Regions from separate parts of the Homo sapiens genome. Here region 2 is linked to region 1. Evidence: promoter capture Hi-C in 16 types of primary human blood cells and fetal thymus (Javierre and others, 2016). All regions are on one chromosome and are shown on one strand. Each heading gives the region's core, a stretch centred on a gene start or on the middle of the fragment in contact. The rest is flanking DNA. Distances are from core to core; before and after follow the strand shown.

What was found. Contacts are between HindIII fragments. The CHiCAGO score rates a contact against its expected background, and 5 or more counts as called.
Region 2: a contact is called between a fragment that was not itself captured here and the fragment with the promoter of RAD54B in region 1, in 1 of 17 cell types (monocytes). The highest score is 5.1, in monocytes.

Annotation. Positions count from the first base shown.
Region 1 is chr8:94,473,425-94,476,427 of GRCh38, forward strand. It overlaps RAD54B (RAD54 homolog B), which reads right to left and starts at 1,691. Exons shown (of 15, transcript NM_012415.3): 1 at 1,577-1,691. RefSeq lists an enhancer at 1,424-1,653. The HindIII fragment of the contact is 4,488 bases long and covers 983-3,003 here.
Region 2 is chr8:90,988,588-90,991,566 of GRCh38, forward strand. No RefSeq gene overlaps it. Among named protein-coding and RNA genes, the nearest start is that of C8orf88, 4.8 kb to the left of the region's middle. The HindIII fragment of the contact is 4,553 bases long and covers 1-2,979 here.

The sequences.
Region 1 (3,003 bases), core at 441-2,940:
TTTGGCTCCATGTGTCTCAGTTTCCTCATCTTTAAGAGGGGGTACCATAATCATGCTTACACACCGGACTGTTGGGAGGATTAAATGAAATATGTAAAGCACTTAGAACAAAACTTGACACATAGTAAGCACTCAATGTTATCTGTTATAATTAGTATTATCGGAGAGTAGAAATGATGAAGGTCCTGTGAAGGAGATAGAGAAGGGGTAGTTCAACATACAGGACAATGACCAGAATCTTTGGGTTCGTCTGGGCTTTAAAGAGAGGTATGTGCAACCATCAAACGTCGAGGATGCAAGAATGTAAGTACACCAACTCTACCAAGAACCAGCAACGGTCTCTCCCTGCTGTTGCTGCTTGTCGACTTCCAACTACATTAGGTAGTAATTATTTCACTTCATGCCTTAAATTGCTCCTTTGAGACTCCGGCTATATAGATGGTTCCTAATTTAGGACGGTGTCACTTAGAATTCTTCGACTTTTAAGAAAGCCATGAGCATTCAGTAGAAACTGTACAAGTAACCACACAACCGTCTGTGTTCATGATTTTGCCCAACTGTAGATTAAGGTAAGTGTTCTGAGCATGTTTAAGGTAGGCTAGCGCAGCCATAAAAAGGAATGAAATCATGTCCTTTGCAGCAACATGGGTGCAGCTGGAGGCTATTATCCAAAGCGAATTAAAGCAGAAACAGAAAATCAAATATTGCATGTTCTCACTTATAAATGGGAGCTAAACATTGGGCATTCATGAACATAAAGATGGCAACAATAGACAGTGGAGACAACTAGAAGGGAGAGGAAAGGAGGAGCAAGGGTTCAAAAACTATTGGGTAACATGCTCACTACCTGGGTGACAGGATCAATCGTATCCAAACCTCAGCACCACGTAATATACCGATGCAACAAACCTGCACATGTACCCCCAAATCTAAAATAAACAGCTGAAAATAATTTTTTTGATAACAAAAGTAGGCTAGGCCAAGCTTTAATACTCAGTAGGTTAGCTGTGTTTTAAATCCATTTTCCATTTGGGATATTTTCAACCCCGTAGTAAGTCGAGAAGCATCTGTTCCTACCTAGAAAATCTTCCATAAGGTAATCGATTAAAAGGTTTTAAGGAAATACAAGAAAAACCTGACCAGTGAAGAGGTAAAAGCCCCTAAAGAAGGCGTACCGACACTCTCCAGGACGCTCGCAGAGCCTTCACCCCCTGGCCCTGGGGAAGGAAATTCCCAGTGCAGGAGTGAGGGAGAGACCCAAAAGCCAAGAGGAGCCTGCGCAAAGCGACCGCAGTGGCGGCCCCAGGGGCCACTGCCCAGAACCATCCCTCCCACACAAACGCACAACCCTAAACCCCCACCGCCCGCCCTTCGCTCCAAGGCCCCCGGGGCCAGCAACCAGGGCGTCCCTGGCACTTCAGACCAAAGCTGCAGGCCCGCAGAAGGCCACTTCGGTCGCTCCTGCCGCCTTCCCTCCCTCCTCCCTCGTTGGCCTGCTCCGGCGCCACTCCCTGCTTTGTCCCGCACGAGCCTACAGGCTGTCGCAGCCTCCCGAGCTTCCCCCTGCAGGACGCACCGGCGAAAATCTGACAGAAACCACTGGCCCTGCAAAGAAGTCCTTCTGGTAACCAGCTATCCCCTCGCCGCCGGAGAAGCTCAAGGATCCCGCCTCGGCGAAGCCAATCGCGGACGAGCCCGCCGCGCGTGCGCACTACCTAGCCGCTGCACTGCCCTGTCCTGCCCTACTCTGATTGGACGACCCTACTGCATCACTGCGCATGTATCTTTGCGTTTGGCTTTAAATGCTTCCAAGTTTGATTCAAGTTTACGGTTCAATTAAAAAAATACTGGTTTAGTGCCTACTTTCAGACACAGTGTAGATGCCGAGGCTACAGACCTCACCATCTGCGTGGATAAGTAATAAATACGGTATGATTCGGTGTGTGCGATAATAGAAATGCGTGCATCGCAGAAGTATACGATATCCTATTGGTTATTCATTCATCCGAAAAAACATTGACTTAGCGGTGCCTGCAGGATAATTTTCAAACTCTTTGTTAGGTTCTGGGAATATAGAAACGAATACGTGATTATTAGGCTCTCAGAAAAGGGGAGCCGCCTCCGGACTTGGAAAAGCATTAAAGCATGTTAAGTAGGAAAGTTACATCATTCAATGAGTATTTACTGAGCACCTTCTAAGTGCTAGGCGGTAACACAGTCAACTATCCCTGAAAAATGGTATTAGAAAGGCTAATCTGAAAGGAGAGAGAATGGCTAAAGGTTGTTTATTGAGTTTTATCCAGCAGTTTGACAAAAAGTAAAAGCTAAAAAATATCAAGGGTGAAATGAAGATGTGAAACAATGGGAACTCTTGGGCTGCTGGTAGGAGTGTAAATAGGTACAGCCATTTAAAAGAGTAATTTGAGGCTGAGAGCGGTGGCTTGTGCCTGTAATCCCAGTACTTTGGGAGGCCGAGGCGGGCGGATCACTTGAGGTCAGGAGTTCGAGACCAGCCTGGCCAACATGGTGAAACCCGGTCTGTACTAAAAATACAAAAATTAGCTGGTTTTGGTGGAGCGCGCCTGTAATCCCAGCTACTCAGCAGACTAAGGCGGGAGAATCGCTTGAACCTGGGAGGTGAAGGCTGCAATGAACCGAGATGGTGCCGCAGCACTCCAGCCTGGGCAGCAGAGAGACCCTGTTTCAAAAAAAAAGAGTAATGTGCTTAAGGAGCTTTTATCCTGGGGACTTTTTCCAGTCATAAAGAGCACCTCATAGGTTGAGTTGTGCTTTTGGCAGCTCCTGGAGCCAGCGTTACAAGAATTTGAAATGGGGACCTGCCAAGGTTGGGCACCTTAGTAAACCGCACCCCCCTCTTCTTTGGACTGGGACACATAAAGAGTAAGGGTAACCAGAAAACAAGCTAGCTTCATAGTGTCTGCAGCCTACCTTAATATCATCTGGGGAGTTCAGAAAATCTAAAACAGATTGGCTAAAGGTGAC
Region 2 (2,979 bases), core at 372-2,871, 3.5 Mb before region 1:
AGGCTAATAAAAGATGAAGTGTCTTTTATCTCCTTTATAAGGATATGGAGAGACACTGAAGGATTTTAGTTTGGGTTTAATAGTATTCTATGACCATTTGGGAAAAAATTACTTAAATGACAACATGAAAAATGGATTGGGAAGCAGAGTAGGCATCAGGCAAGACAAGAAGAGAGGCAGAGGAATCGGTTCAGAGGTTTACAGTAATCCAGGCAATGTTTATTGAGAGCCATAAGTAAAGGTAGATAGTGACCATAAGGAAAGAAAAGTACACATAGCTGAGAGAATAAGGAAAACTGCTAACAGTGTAGAGTGTGAGAGTGGAAAGTGGAAAATAGTGATGCCAGTTATTGACTTGCGCACCCAGAGCGATACAGGAAAAAAATAAAAAGATACTGTGATTTGCCTGAGGAGGCACAAGAGAATGGGATCTAGATTGTAGGTGAAGGGAAGGGACAAAAGCAAGAATAGGTGAAGTAGAGATTATCCAGTATAAGTGGAAGGGGTCTACTGTGGAAAGCAGTAGGACTTTCAAATTTTGAGATAGCATTTCTGGGGAATGTTCACCTGAAAACAGGTGAACACTGTTGAGGAGTCAGCTGAAGGTGAAGATCAGAAATTTATAAAGGCATTTACCTGCGTGGTTGTGAGATTCATTGGCAAATAAAGGAAGGGATGATAAATTGAAAGAATAATAAACCTGAAGTCCTCACAGTGTGAGACTTCCGGACAGAAGAGGTATATTTTCAAAGAGGTGTATTTTCAGACAGTGGGATAACTGAGTGTGAGAGTTGAGATGGAGTGGTTCTGAGTATAACCACCCAGCATGCCGCTGTAGAGGTGAATACCAGAAGTGAAAGGAAAATAAAGGTCATTAGACTTGACGAAGAACTGTGAGTCCAGACTGCAGTATTAGATAAGCCATTCACATTGACATTTAAATCAGTGGCATGTGATAAGAATAAAAACCAGGTACTGAAGTCTGCATTGGTGAGGAGGGAGTTAAAGGAGATCTGTGGATGGCGGATGGTAGGTAGAAGGGAAAGTTTATAAAGGAGTTAGGCAGGTACATAGGAAGAAACCAGAAAAAAAAAACACATGGCCTTACATAAGCTAGGGAATTCTCCACGTTTCCTAAACTCTTTCTTGAGGCTTAATAACTAATAAAAACTTAATGCATTTTGGCCAGGTGCAGTGGCTCACGCCTGTAATCCCAGCACTTTGGGAGGCCGAGATGGACGGATCACGTGGTCAGGAGGGCAGGACCATCCTGGCTAACACAGTGAAACCCCGTCTCTACTAAAAATACAAAAAAATTAGCTGGCCATGGTGGCGAGCGCCTGTAGTCCCAGCTACTCAGGAGGCTGAGGCAGGAGAATGGCATGAACCTGGGAGGCGGAGCTTGCAGTGAGCCGAGATTGCGCCACTGCACTGCAGCCTGGGCAACAGAGTGAGACTCCTTCTTAAAAATGTAAATAAATAAAATAAAATAATTAAAAAAATAAAAAATGTAATGCATTTTCAAGATTATTTAAATGTCCACTATCTTAAGCCAAAGGTATATCTCATGTGGAAATATGAGATACTGAGGCAAGGTTTTTCAGAAAAATTTATTGGAACACTGGGAACTTTTCCATAACTCTGTATATCCTACCATTATTACCTACACCTATCAACAGGCCACCCAGGGCATTCAAAATTTCATAAGAGCAATGTGTGCGATCACTTCCTATTTAATAAGTTACCTTAAATAACTCTTAGTTACAAAATTGAAAAGACTGTTAGATCAAAGACTCTCATTTACTGTATTACAAACTAGACCTACTTCTTAAATCTTTGGCCTGATCTGATCCTTACTCTGTGAGGCCGTCCCCAAAAGAAAACAAATAGGCTCTTTATTTCTCTGTTTTTAATCTAATATTCCACTTCAAGTCAAACATATGCATGTTTAGCAAAATATAAAGAACATAGTATTTATTTAAATGTGTAACTGCATATGTAAAACAAATTTTAAAATTAAAAGCCTGTACAAATTTTTATTAGCATTTTGTGCTAACAAATCATTTTCATAAATATTGCAATTACAAGAAAAAGAAAATACAATTGTTATTTAAAACTCATCGCATGTCAATTTCCTCATATTTAATAGAAAATACTTCTGACTGGGTGCATATGCCTTTAATCCCAGCAGCACTTTGGGAGGCCGAGGCAGGCGGATCGCTTAAGCTCAGGAGTTCCATTCCAGCCTGGGCAACATGGCGAAGCCACTTGTCTACAAATACAGAAAAGAAAAAAAAAAACTATCCGGGCATGGCGGTGCACCTGTAGTCCCGGTTATTCAGGGGGTCAAAGTGGAAGGACTTCTTGAGTCCCAGAGACCGAGACTGTAGTGATCGAGAGGTTGAGTCTGCAGTCAGCCCTGAGATTCTGCTTCTGCACTCCAGCCTGGCTGACAGAGTGAGACCTTTTTTCAAAAAAAAAAAAAGAAAAAAAAAATATTTTTACTTAGCCTTCCTATAATTTTATGCTAATTATAAAAAAGAAAATACATGTAATAATATTTTGCTACATAAATCAAAATGCTCTAAAATTAATGTAGTTGGATATAATATCAAATTCATTAAAAATTTTAAATTATTCTATGCTTTTGAAATGACTATTTTGGGCAAATATTTTCTAATAATTCTCTTTCTACAGATGACCTACAGACAATGAACAGCAGAGGGCACAAAAATCAAAAGTTTTTCACTACAAAGTGAAATAATAAAACCTTATGTAGTGGAAAGCAGACACATTTCAGAAGCAGACAGACTGATTCCATCTGGCTTCCTCACATATAAGCTAAGTGACCTTTAATTATTGAATCTGTCTTAGCCTCTTCAATGGTAGAATAATAACTGTGACAGACTAAATGTTAACATACGTAAGGTGGCTACATAAACACTAGGGCTTTTGTCTTCATTGCTTATTACATATGTA